2 separate regions of the Homo sapiens genome follow, and region 2 is linked to region 1. Evidence: promoter capture Hi-C in 16 types of primary human blood cells and fetal thymus (Javierre and others, 2016). All regions are on one chromosome and are shown on one strand. The core of a region is centred on a gene start or on the middle of the fragment in contact, and the rest is flanking DNA. Distances in the headings are between cores, read along the strand shown.

Region 1 (6,926 bases), core at 4,258-6,757:
CTTCTTTTCTTCATGTGGATCTGATTTTCTAATTTTCTATATTATTTTTCTTCTCTTGGAAGAACTTCTTTTAACATTCTTCTCAAGGCAGATCTACTGGCAATAAATTATTTAAATTTTTGTTTGTCTGAGAAAGTCTTTAATTCTCCTTCACTTTTGAGAAATAATTCTGCAGAGCACAGAATTGTAGGTTGGTGCACTTTTTCCTTGCAAGTCTTTAAATATCTTACTCTACTCTCATCTTGTTTGCATGGCTTCTGAGGAGAAGTTGGATATAATTCTTATCTTTGCTCCTCTATAGGTAAGTTGCTTTTTTCCCTCTGGCCTCTTTCAAGATTTTTTTAAATCTTTGATTTGAATATGATATGCCCAGGTGTAGTTTTTTGGGCACTTATCCTGCTGATGTACCTGGAACTTCCTGGATCTGTGACTTTGTGTCTGACATTAATTTTGGGGAAATTCTCAGTCATTATTACTTCAAATGTGTCTTCTGTTCCTTTCTGTCTTCTCCTTCTAGTAGTCTCTATTCATGTATATTATATTGTAAACCAAAAATAAAATTCTTAGCCATGCAATTGACTGATGGACCCTCCCCTCAGCCAAGGGCATTCCAAAGTTAACCTGAAAAGCTAGTTCAGGCCCTGATGGAAGTGGGGGTCAGACATGCCTCATTATACCCCTCTTCCTTTGGAATTCAGGCATACCTGCCAGCATTAACATTAAAACAGAGAACTTAAGACTCATAGAAAACTCTTTAAGTCAGATAAGAAACAGTCCCTTCTATTGATTCTGTCTGCATAATGAGAACCTTGGTCTCCACAACCTCTTATCTTAACCCAGACATTACCCTTTATTAATTATAGATTTTTAGACAATAACTTAACTCCTTCAACCGATTGCTGATGAACAAAATTCTTGAATCCATCTATGACCTGGAAGCCCCCACTTCAAATTTTCTTACCTTTCTGGACCAAACCAATGTACATCTTACATGTATTGATTGATGTCTTATGTCTCCCTAAAATAAATAAAACCAAGCTGTGTAGCCTTGGGCAACCTTGGGCACATGCTCTCAGGATCTCCTGGGGCTGTGTCTCAGGCCATTGGTCATTCATATTTGGCTCAGAATAAATCTCTTCAAATATTTATAGAGTTTGACTCTTTTCATTGACAATATCTTTTGTAGTTGTCCCCCAGTTCTTGGATATTCTGTTCATTTCTTGCATACATTTTTCTCTGCTTTTTGGTTTTGAAAGTTTCTGTTGACATACCCTCAAGCTCAGAGATTCTTTTCTCAGCCGTGTTCCATCTACTAATACGCCATTCTTCATTTCTGTTATGGTGCTTTTCATCTCTAGCATTTTTTATTATTTTTTAGAATTTCCATGTCTCTGCTTACGTTACCCATCTGTTTTTGTATGTTGTGTAAATTTTCCATTAGAGCTCTCAGCATATTAATCATAGTTATTTTAAATTCCTGGACTGATAATTCTGACATTCCTCCCATATGTGAGTTTGGTTTTGGCATTTGCTTTGTCTTTCCAAGTTGTATCTTTGGCTTTGTAAATTTTTGTTGAAAGCCATACATGACATCCTGGGTGAAAGGAATTGCCATAAATAGGCCTTCAGTGATGTGTTGGGAAGGTGTTGGGAGAGGGAAAATGGTCTATTTTCCTCTGATTAGGTCTCAGTCATCTAGTGAGCCCAGTCCCCTGGACTGTGAACTTCACAGTGCTTCTCAGCTATGTTTCACCCCCTTAGATGGGGCAGAATGTCTATGGGGGGCTGGAGTTGGGTATTTTCCTTCTCCCAGGCTGGCGAGACTCTGATAAAACCCCAGTTGGTTCAGCTCTGGTAAAATTGTTTCTTTTGAGAGTGGGTCTTGTTAAGAAGCACAGAATCTCTGGCACATTCAGAATAGTTACTTTCCTCCTCCCTTGCAGGAAACACGAGAGGATTTTTCTTCAATCTTCACTATGAGAGCTTTGTGGAGCTCCTGGAGGCAAACTTACAAAAGCACAGCTGCTCCCCTAAGACTGGGCCCCCTTGGAGTTTTTAACTCTCAAATTTGTGCATATTGGTCCTCCAGTAATTTGTCAATTATAGTCCAGGTCTTCCTACTCTGTACTGGTTCCCACTGAGATTTCAGCTATGGGACAACGGTTGTGGGGTAGTGTGTGTGGTCTACTCAGTTAAGTTGTAATTGCCTGTATCTACCTGTCTACATCTCTAATTTTGGGGCAGCAGTCTGCCCTGTGACCTCACTTCTTTGACTCATCTAAGAAGAGTTGTCTATTTTCAATTTGTGCAGCTTTTTACTTGCTTTTTAGGATAGAGTGATGACTTCCAAGGTCCTTACATGCCAGGCCAGAAATTGGAAATCTATTATTGTTTTGACCCATGCATTATTTAGGAATATAATATATTATATTCCTAATTATATAATTATATTATATAATATAATTATATTATATATTTTTATATATTTATATTATTATATAAATTATATATATTTAAAATATATATTTGTATATGTATGTATATATGTATATATACAGTATATGTATGTATGTATATATACAGTATATGTATATATATACGTATATGTATATATGTATATATACAGTATATGTATATATATACACAGTTTGCTGACATAGGCCATGTGTCCTCTAGTTGACTTCTTGGACTCTCTTGGGTAGAATCCCATTATACTGGCTCAAGCCTGGTTACTTCCTACGGTGTCCTCTTGGTTTATAGGAAACTCATGCATATGCATCCTTGACACACCAAATTCTAGTGGTGTACATAGTTTCCACTACCTTCTCTCTTTGTTCTAACATTTGGGGCTTCAAACTCTGGGGAAGTATGTCAAACCTTTGGGCAGGATACTTATGGGCTATTATCCCCAGTCCTGGGGTTTAATCAGACACTATGAGTCTAAAGGCAAATGTCCACTCCACATCTGATTACTCTTTCATTTTCTTTCCCTTATTATAACTTCTGTAATATATCATGGGATTGGAATATCATTGGCCTTGGTATATACCATGGTGTTCTAATGAGTTTACCAATTTTATATATTTAGATATGAAGGAAATGTTGTCATATAGCAAAGGGCCTAACTACTTCCATTGGTCTGTTGTGACAGGATACTGACCCTACACATCATTTAATCACCGTGGGCATTATTTATCTTTTTAAACCAGGGAACGATCACTTGTTCTAAATAATTCAAGTTTTGGGAAGCATCAAATGAAATGATCAAAATGAAATCTGTTTATACAGTGTAAGTTAAAGATACCCATAACTATTTTAAACATTGCATTTGGTATCATGACTTTAAATTACATAAGTTGAGAAGTTTTATGTTATCTCTAAATAAGGTTTATTTACCAGAAAATCATGGACAAAAATTATCCTATAACAAAATGAAAACATCATGTCATCTGTGCCAATTGCAATTTTAGGAAGAGTACTTATTAGGGCTTTGATTATTCTTTGATGTTCTCTGTTGTCAAAGTGAAGTAACCTAAATGATGTTATGCTTGCATCCTGGAATGAAAGGAGGAATGAGAATCTTCTATTATTGTTTTTCTAAAAATTATATTTCTTAATAAACAGAATATATCCATATGTATCATCAAGGATGAATTTTCCTCTGATTTGGCTTAATGAAATCTCTGGGAATTATGAAAAAATTCCTTTGCCGCTCTTGTTGCCATAAACCTTGTGTTATCAGTGTTGCACAGACCATGGCTAGCCATTTAATGCCGTGAATTATGGCATATAATTTGAATTGAGAGCTTTGTTTCTATCAAAGGTAAAAATGCTTCTGGAGTGAGTGAGGAAGGCTTTGAAGCAGTGAGAGCGTTTCCCCTATAGCATCATTGGGCTCTGACAGTAGGACCTTGAAGAGGAGGGTTCTAATCCTGTCTGCCACTATGTGACAGGCAAGTCACCTGATCTTTTTTTTTTTTTTTTTTTTAGAGTCTTTCTCTATAGCCCAGGCTGGAGTGCAGTAGTGCCATCTCGGCTTACTGCAACCTCTGCTTCCTGGGTTCAAGCGGTTCTCCTGCCTCAGTTTCCCGAGCACCTGCGACTACAGGCACGTGCCACCACGCGCCCAGCTAATTTTTGTATTTTTAATAGAGACAGGGTTTCACCATGTTGGCCAGGCTGGCCTCGAACTCCTGACCTCAAGTGATCCACCCGCCTCGGCCTCCCAGAAGTGCTGGGATTACAGACGTGAGCCACCGCGCCTGGCCCCGATCTCTTTGAACTCAGTTCCCTCATCTGTAAAGCCAGCGGCTTGGGTTGGATAATCCATACTGTCCTTTAAGCCAAGATATTCAGGGCTTGTAAATAATGCTGACTTTGCAAAGTAAGATATTGCCCGGTGTCTGCAGAATCAGGCAATTCCAAGGCCATTGTAAGGCGAAACAAAGCTCAGATTTGATGAGAGAAAATTTCTTTTCAAGGACTTCTTCCGAAGCATAAATATACGGCAGATAGCGTCAACACAGGAGAAAGGCAGTCTATTTTATGCAATGTAAAATTCCGTCTTAACTTCTAGGATTACTGTTACATCCTATTGCAAAAATGGGACTCAGGTAGACCATTTGACTACAAGACCCGAAATAAGTCAGTGGTATTTCTTGGGTACTCTGGCATTGTTAGGGACGATCACATATGTTTACTCATTTTATACTTATAACACCTTGAAAACTTCAAGAAACGGAGATGGAGATTTTGCGGCTTGCCCAGGTCCCACAGCTAGTGAGTGCAGAGGATTTTAAACTCAGCTGCGCGCCTAGTGCAGGTTCCAGAACCTCAGAAACCTCCGTGGGGCTTTATGAAACATAAGGACGCAGGCCGCTAGTAACAATAGCTAACGTGAATGCCTTCTCTGGGCCAGGCTCCATGCTGCATGCTATAGTCGCATTTTCTTGGTTAGCCCTCAGAACAACCTTCTGATGGAGATACTGCTAGTACTTGTTTACTCTTTGAAGGGCGGGGTAGGCTCTGAGACCCGCGAGTTGAGCTGCAGCGGGGTGAGTGTTACGCTACCAGGTAGACGAGGGTCTGTGTAAATTTGGCGGAAGGGAAGTGGTGGGTTGTCTCCCAGTTTGGGTTCTCTGAAGGAGTGAGGGGACTCTCCAGCTATGGTCTCCACGTACAGTCGGTCTCTGATCTCCCGAGGCTTTGTGCCACTGCGCGCCCAGGGATCTTTCTGTCCCAATTACCGTGCAAGATTCTTGCCTCCAGTTGTATGTACTGAGGCGGCGGGAAGAAGCGCCGAGGGAAGGCTCAGACCGCAATGCCCCCCAGCCTGTAGCTATTCTCGGGGGCTGCAGCTCCCGCACCCGCGACGCCCGGCTTTCAGCGGGTGCAGGCGCAGCCTCCTCGTTCCCCTCCCGCCCGCGGCTGCGCCCGGAGAGCGCTCAGCTGACCTAGGGGCGGGGCCGGGGCGGGGACCTAAAGCCTCGGCTACTTCCGAGGGGGTGAGTGGCTTCACCGCCGGTCCCTTGCAGCGCTGCCTTTCGATCTCTCCACATCTCGGTGGCGCGGGATCTCAAGATGCGCCTCCACCTGCTCCTGCTGCTCGCGCTGTGCGGTGCAGGCACCACCGCCGCGGAGCTCAGTTACAGCTTGCGTGGCAACTGGAGCATCTGCAATGGGAACGGCTCGCTGGAGCTGCCCGGGGCGGTCCCTGGCTGCGTGCACAGCGCCTTGTTCCAGCAGGGCCTGATCCAGGTATGGCGTGCGGCCGACCCGCGGCGAGCCTGCGCCCGCCTTCTTCTGGTGCTGAGAGGGGCCCAGGAACCGCCTGGCAGCCCCCAGCTCTGGGCCATTCTCGTCGGTTTGGTAGTAACTTCCCCTTTGCATCTTGTGATCTGCGGGGGGAAATGCCCAAGCTATGGGGTACGGGCTTGACGGAGACTGAGCGACCGACCCATGTTGGGACATCAGTAACTCTGGAAAGGGGAAGTTTAGATAGGGGAACAGTGTTGCTACTAGCAGTTTACTTACTGCAGTCGTTCTCTACTGAAGCGTGTATACAAAGGGCATGCCGTCACTGACAAGCATAAGGTCGGGAATTACTGTCTCTACTGTCTGCACGCCACAGGGGACAACAGCGTTTTGTTAAGTAAGGGTTAACTCTATTGAGTAATGTCTCGGTTTTTTATTTTCGCTGTTAAGCGTCAGGGAGTCAGATTTGGGATTGACGCAGCACAGACGTTGTGGAGAATGACCTACAAGAGTAAAGTTGGGTTTGTCAGTGCTAGTGTGGCTAACAACGGGTAAATAATTTTTAAGGCTAACTTGGTGATGAAGAAAGGTGCTATTTCCTCTCAGGGCGTGTGTGTGTGTGTGTGTGTGTATCCCAATGGAGTCTCCAATTTACAGACTACTTGTGGGGAACGTTTTCGTGTTTGGCTGCCTGTGCGCATAGGTTTGCAAACTGACTTCCATCCTCCAACTGCTTTTGCTGTTCCCTCTTGCACAGCGTTCCCACGTGTTGTCTTTACTTGGGGCAAAATGTACTTGTAATTGATCTACTTGTGGGATGCATACATTGTCCAATCCTCATAACAACTCTGTATAGTAAGTGTTCATATCTGAATTTTATGGATAATATGGAATTATGGAACACAGAGAAATTAGGAAGGTGACAGCAACTAAATGGAAAGAAATGGAATTCTAACCCAGGTGGTCTCAACTCCATAGCCTGGTCTCTATACTATGTGGTATGCTTAGTTTGGTGTTTTAAAAAATCATGTGTTTTTGAAGCACTGTGGCTGACTTTCAGGAGCACCATTCTAAGTTTATTTGCATGACAAGGTGGTCATCTAGGGTTGTGCCAAATTTCTGACCTGGTACTTAGTAGTTTTTTTTTTTTTTTTCCTGAGATGTGTATCAGA
Region 2 (7,621 bases), core at 3,016-5,515, 1.4 Mb after region 1:
ATGGACAAATGTAGAATGACATGTACCCACTGTTATAGTATTACACAGGGTAGTTTCACTGCCCTAAAAATTCTCTCTGCTCCACCTATTTATCTCTTCCTTCCCGCTGACCTCTGACAATCACTGATCTTTTTACTGTCTCCATACTTTTGCCTTCTCTAGAATGTCACATAGTTGGAATCATACACTATGTAGCCTTTTCAGGTTGGCTTCTTTCACTTAGTAATATGCATTTAAGTTTCCTTCATGTTTCTTTATTGCTTGATAGGTCATTTCTTTTTAGTGCTGAATAACAGTCCATTGCCTGAATGTACCACAGTTTATTTATCCATTCACCTACTGAAAAACATCTTGGTTGGTTCCAAGTTTTAGCAATTATGAATACATTTCTTTATTACTTACTACCCTTCGGTTGTACATAACTGAAATTCAACCGAACTCCAGCATAAAATGCTAATGAATTATAAGAATGTTGTGGGGGTCTCATGGACCCCAAGGGCTGTCATGTAGCTGGGTCGTGGGAACACAGTGGGATCAGGAAATGGAATACCAGCCGTCTTCCTTCTTTCATCTTTGCTTGCTCTTTTCTGCATGACTGATTCATTTTTTTTTTTCTGTAGAACCACCTTCTCTTCTTTCCTAATCCATATGGTAGAATAACACGGCTGCTGAAAGCTTCTTAGTATCAGTTTGACCTGTTTTCCAGAGAAAAGACTGAATTCAGTTTTCCAAAGAAAGAAATATCATGGGAAAAGAAGGCAACATGTATCCAGTCTTGATCTATGGTACTATAACCTTTAGATGGGGTCATGTAGAATCATGTGGATAAGTCATCTTTGAAATGAGGCTTCTGAGCAGACAAAATATCCAACATACACCTAATGCCTTCCCAGCCTGGGCAGAGGGGTACTGCAAATATCTGGGACAGATCTCAGTTCTGAGTTGACTCAATATACTTCCTGTTTTAGGAATATTTTCATTTTACCTATCAAGGAATTAAATGCTATATTCCGTGAGTTAAGAATTTCGGGCAATGGAGGGTACATCATTTGGGGATTAGAAACAGGGAAGGAATCTGCCCAGGAAATTCATCATCCTTATTCTTAGGATGGTAAATTCATTGTGGATGTGGGAGAAGGAGAGTAATCTGAAGTGAGATAAGAAGAGATTATTGTTTTTTCCCCACTGCATCTTTAAGTCGGTGATCTGGTCATTTTCCTTGCACCATCCCTCTATATCCAAGTGGCTATCAATTCTGACTAGCACATGCTCTCAGTGCCTCAACCCTGAGCCTGTCCCAAACTTTTCCATTTCCACAGCAGCTCCCTCTGTGCTTGTATCTGCATCTTTGTCAGACCACTGTCCTCAGGCTTCCTTGGCCTTTGCCCAAACGTGGAGAGAGCAGGAAGTGCCTAGGAATTCGTATCTCTCCGAGGCAGTCTGATCACACAAGCCTGGTGGTACAAATACTCAGCTCCCTGCTCCCTGATGGGAACAGCTCAGAGGTGTGACTTATAAGTCTCCAGAGGACCCCCACAGGATTGGGCCAAAGTTAACCATCTTTGCTTGACATATCACCCTTGCTTGGCTTTCTTCCCTTCCCTGTCACTTTTCCTGCTTCCCCCCTGGTTTTTCCTTGGAACACTTTTTAATAAATCACCTTTATATGAATATTTATCTCAGGGTCCGCATCTAGGTACTCCAACCTTAGATAGCTGACTATGCATTACAATTACACGGGAGGTAGGTAGTATATATTTAGCAGAACAGAAATTCTTAGGTCATGAATGAGGAACAAAAAGTAAATTTTTACCCAAAAAATTTTAATTAAAAACTTTAATTTTTAGTAATATGTTTTGTGTGTGTGTGTGTGTGCGCGTATGTTCCACAGTAATTCCAGGACTAACTGTGGCATGTGAAACAGATAAGACAAATGTCCTAGTCACTGGGTTGTAATGAGTAGCATATGGGTCCCACAGGATTAGATGGGTTATTTAGATACGCTGATTGGCATTATTACCCTTTATAAATGTTTGATCTCTAATTTCAGACATGTGGGAGAATCACATAACTCTGCCTCCCTTGAAATTAGGTTTAGCCAAATGATGAATTCAGCCTATGGAATGTGAGTGTGGTCATTCATGAGTATCACTTCCAGGCAGAAGCATTTGATTGCTAGGGCTTAGACCTTCAGCCCTCTCCAGCCCTGTTGGGTGACTGTGGAACCAGGTGTTAATATTTGTGCTATCTGATTGTAGGAGGCTGGAATGCTGAGTCAGCCTGGAGGGCTGCCCAGACCTGCAGAGAAATTCAAACTTTTGTTAAGCTACCAAGATTTTCCATTTTTACTGCAGCATAGCCTATAACCTGCCTGATGATGACATGGCAATAGGCATGGAGAATATTCAGTCAATAGCTCAAAAATTCCCCAAGACTGCCTAGTCAGAGTCTATCTATCCCTCTTTCCATCCATACTAATTTTTCTCCTTTAATTTTTTTGTACTGAGTGTGCTATAGAAACAATGGTATGGGCAAGGATGAAGGTAGAATATGGTCATTGTCTGCTGAAGAAGAGCATTGCCATAAGCACCAGAATCAGTAGGTGAAAACTTACAGAGGGCGTAAAGTAACAATCTTAGTGGCTCTTTTTAGGGGTCTTTGGTTGTAAGGAACATAACACTCAAACTAGCTGTAGAAAATAGGGTTTATTGTAAGGGTATTGAGGGGTTTATATATCCAGAAAAAAATTAAACAATGATGCCTTGGAAGGACAAAAAGAACACAGATTTTGAAATGTCTCTTTCTGCTCTCTCCGCCCCTGTTGAATCTGACCTATTACCCCTCTACCCAGAATGGCTTCATCTGTTTACATGCCTTGCACATGAATCATGTGCTAGTGGCTACGTTAACCCCAGCCTGCATTTCCCTTTATTCAAACAATAACCGTACACTTTCCTTTGAATTTTAAGGGCAAGCCCTTCACAGAAGGCATCTGATTAATCTAGCTTACTTGTGCAAATTAGATTAGGGAAGTTAAAGGTTACCAGCCCATAGGTACCCCCTAGTCAGATGTTCATCCACCCTAGTCCAATCCCCTGTAATGGCAGTAATTAAACCTGTGACCTGATGATCACTTGGCAGGTGAGGCTACTGAGGCATTTTACCTACAGCAGGGATATGGGCAGGACGGGCACCCTAAAGCATATTAACACAATTTCTAAGACAGACTAGATTTCTTTGGGCTGGGCACAGGTAACACCCTGAAATAGAGAGGGAAACTCTTTTGAGGACTGCTCCTAAACAACCATAACCCAAACCGTATCCACTTCCTCTCTGAAAATTGCTGCTATCTGTCCTAACTTATCACCAGGGAATAGCTTAGATGTTGCAAGCAAACAATAGAACCCTTTGTGTATTTGGAGAAGGAAGAAATATGAGTAATACTGTGTCTTCCCTTGGATCTATATAAGTAATTATTCTTACAGTACGGATGTGTGAGAGACACACCTCGTGCTAAAAACTAAACTCCTGAATTCCATCTGTCATCCTCAAGGCCTGAGTCCACTCTCTACGAAAGTTGACTCTGTAACTTTAAAAAATCTAAATGTGAAATTTTAGTTTTTCCTAAAAATATTTGAAATGCTTATTTAAACTATTTAGAAGGTTAGAAAAACTAACCCAGACTAACATTGTAATCAAATATTTGTTTTTTTTCAACAAACATATATTAAGCACCTGGAATATGGTAGGCATGTTACAGGCGATGGAAATTCAATTGGGAACAAAACAAAGTCCCTGCTCTCAAGGTTCATATTATCTAAGTAGATGACAGAAGACCAACAAACAAATAAATCAAACACAGCACACATACAGATGCAACGTCAAGTAGTTATAAATACTGAAAAGGAACTGAAACCCTATAAAGAGGCAGAGAGTGATGAGGTGCTATTTTTGTTAGGTATACAAGTCTACCTTGTCAAGATCACAAATAATTTCTCTTTTTATTAAAATCAACAATCAAATTTCAGTTGTCATTTTACTTAACCTATCAGCATGGTTGACACAATTCATTTGCTTGACTGTGGGGACGTTACCTTTCAATCCCAGAAGCTGCTTCTTTCAGTTGGTTTTGCTGGAACCTCCTATTCTTCCTACCTTCTAACTGAAATAAAGCACTATTATGCCCACGATTTCCAATTTTATACACAAGACTTTCAAGTTCAGGCTTATATATCCGACTGCCCACATGCCATTTCCACTTCCATGTACAATATGCGCCTCAGAGTTAACATATCTAAAGCTAACTTTAGATCTTCTCCAGCAAATATGCTGTCCATTTCTAATGTTTTCTTTCTTAGTAAATGTTAACTCTTATCTTCCATTTGCTGAGACTCAAAATCTTGTAGTTCTTGATTCTTCTTTTTTATTTTTCTCACATCCTGTATCCAATCCATCAGCAAATTCTGTTAGTTCTACTTTTAAAATGCATTTTTGGTATTGGATGCTTTTCACCACTGTCTTCTAAACTATATAACCCAAACTACCTTACTTCTATTGGATTATGACAATAGTCCTTTAACTACATCTTCCCATATCTATTCATTCTTCCTTCCCTCCATTACATCCAGGGTCAGTTTTTACCAAAGAATGATTGTTTTCTTTAAACTTAAGTCCTATCATATCATTTCCTAACAAAATCCCTTTCATTTCACCCAGAATAAAATTCAGTCGTTCCTATGGTTAAGGCCCTACATAATCTGACTTTTCATGATCTCCCTAACCTTATCTTGTACCACTCTTTCGAGTTCATTCTGCTCCAACTACCCTGGCTTCCTTTCAGAGTTTGTAAACATGTCAACCAGACTCTTAACTCTGGACCTTTGCATATGCAGTTCCTTTTACTGGGAACTCTCTTCTTCCACATAGTGGCATAAATATCTTCATTATTTCATTTGAATCTCTGTTCAAATATCACCTTCTCAGAGAGGACTTCCCAGTCCAAGCTGTCTACAACAAGTACAGTGGTACTTTAGTATCTGTGGAGTTTGGTTCCAGGACTTCTTGAGGATACCCAAATCCACACACACTAAAATCCCTGATATAAAATGGTGTAGTATTTGCATGTAACCTTTGCACATCCCCCTGTATATTTAAAATCATCTCTATATTACTTATAATAGCTAACACAATGTAAATGCTATGTAAATAGTTTCTACACTGTCTTGTTAGGAAATAATGACAAGAAAAGAAAGTCTGCACATATTCAGTATACAAGTAGTTATCTTTTTTCCCGAAATATTTTTGATTCAAAGTTGGTCGAATCCATGAACGTAGAATCCACAGATACAGAGGGCTGACTATAGTACCCTTCTTCTCATCACTTCCCTCAATGTTCTTACCACTATGCATTGTTTGCACTTATTACTTAGTCTGCCTGACATGTTGTGTGTGTGTGTGTGTGTGTGTAACTGTTATTAATTGTTCTTTACTATTATCTGTCTCTCCTCACTAGAACATAAGTTTTATGAGGGCAGACACTTTGCTTTGCTTTTTTTCATATTATATTCCTAGTGCCTGATACGTATAGGTGTTCAATAAATACCCCCCCTTTTTTTTCTCCTGAGAGAGAGTCTCGCTCTGTTGTCCAGGCTGGAGTGCAATGATACTATCTCGGCTCACTGTGACCTCCACCTCCCAAGTTCAAGCGATTCTCCTGTCTCAGCCTCCCAAGTAGCTGGGACTACAGGCAGCTGCCACATGGTTGGCTAATTTTTATATTTTTAGTAGAGATGGGGTTTCACCATGTTGGCCAGGCTGGTCTCAAACTCCTGACCTCAGGTGATCCACTCACCTTGGCCTCCCAAAGTGCTGGGATTATAGGTGTGAGCCACCACACCCAGTCTCAGTAAATACCTTGTGAATATATGCCTTCCACTAGCCATGAACAGTAGTAAAAAAAAAAATCTCACTAATTGGAAGTAAATGGAAAGAAGGCTAGCCAATTCTTCTAAATGGTAGAATATTTACTTGCAATTTTTAATCAATAATTGGCAAAATCTGTTTCAAGTAAAAAATATGTCTTTGCCAACTTAGATGAGTGAAACTCGTTACTAATTCTTATATTGATTTTGTATATGCAAATGTGCTTTTAAAGGCTCTGACAAACTTTCTCCTAAATTGATTTACCAGGTCTCCTATAATTTGTCTGTACCTGTAGTTTGATTAGTAAGCCTTTTGCTGGTATTGTTGAAGTTATTCTCAAAGCACCTAAAATATAAACTTAGCTCATTTCATGTCAAATATTCTGAAATTCTAAGTTTAGAGAATCCATAATACATAAAGTTTTACAGCATGTATATTTCTTGGATGTTTAAAAATATAATAGCACATATATTTTAAATGCAAACATTTATGACTTGGAACCATTAATTTATTCATAATTTTCAAAATGTGTAATAAAATTAGAATTCAAAGTAAGAGAAAGGACTAATAACATTTCTCTCCAGCATATATGTGTGTGTGTGTGTGTGTGTGTGTGTGTGTGTGTGTGTGTGTGTGTAGGGGTGGGGATGCATGTTTTTAATTTCATGGGTCATATTGAAATTTCTCTGAGAGTAGGAACAATGTTACTTAGGCTAGTAACTTATATAGTGGACACCAATACATTTTAAAAATTCATTCAACAAAATTTGTTGAGCACCTACTCTGTGCCCAAAACTAGGATATGAGATGATGATACAAACATATTAATAAATAAAATAAATATGAAAATTTATTAAATACAAATGTATAATGATCACAGATTGTCTTGTCAAATTTTACATAAAATATATCTGTCTGTATTACACTTAGCATATAATTCCATAAATTATAGTTTAATCCTAATGGGAAAAAATTAAATTTATTCCTGAATACATTTGATACAAAAATTTTTAATGTTCCTTGAAAAATAACTTCTTTAAATGGGTAAAACTGCCTTCTGAAAGAAACAAGGCTCAACAAAATTTCAAGAGCAATAAAAAAATAGGTAATAAAACTTCCTTTTAGTTTGAACCTCAAATTAGATCTATGTAGAATAGCATATTTCATAGAACCTCTATGGAAGTAGGGTAGAACTAGAAAATGTGAGAAGGAAATGTCACAGGAATTAGCTTTAAGATAATAAATCAAAGTCTCATATACATTCATGGCCCTATCAGGATTGACTGTCCTACTTTGCAGGTTCCTCAGCATTGTGCTCCACTAACTTAAGTGAGGATAGAGCAGACATACTGCTGTCTACCATCAGCTACTCAGAAAAAAGTGAATGCCTCAGAAGAGTCATAATCAGAAGTTTTTTTTTATTTTTATTTTTTTTTGAGATGGAGTCTCACTCTGTCACCGAAGCTGGAGTGCAGTGGCATGATTGCAGCTCAATGCAATCTCTGCTTCCTGAGTTCAAGCAATTCTTCTGTCTCATCCTCCCGAGTAGCTGGGACTACAGGCACACACCACCACGCCTGGTTAATTTTTGTATTTTTAGTAGAGACGGGGTTTCACCATATTGGGCAGGCTGGTCTCGAACTCCTGAGCTCGTGATCCACCTGCCTCGGCCTCCCAAAGTGCTGGGATTACAGGCGTA

The links. The method cuts DNA at HindIII sites, captures the fragments that hold promoters and counts their contacts. A CHiCAGO score of 5 or more calls a contact.
Region 2: a fragment that was not itself captured here is called in contact with the fragment with the promoter of MANBA in region 1 in 1 of 17 cell types (neutrophils); the score reaches 5.2 in neutrophils.

What each region holds. Positions count from the first base shown.
Region 1 is chr4:102,759,549-102,766,474 of GRCh38, reverse strand. MANBA (mannosidase beta) reads left to right here and starts at 5,507. Exons shown (of 17, transcript NM_005908.4): 1 at 5,507-5,757. The coding sequence starts at 5,581. RefSeq lists a silencer at 5,343-5,472 and an enhancer at 5,563-5,912. The HindIII fragment of the contact is 23,862 bases long and covers 1-6,926 here.
Region 2 is chr4:101,351,756-101,359,376 of GRCh38, reverse strand. No RefSeq gene overlaps it. Among named protein-coding and RNA genes, the nearest start is that of PPP3CA-DT, 7.8 kb to the right of the region's middle. The HindIII fragment of the contact is 7,175 bases long and covers 678-7,621 here.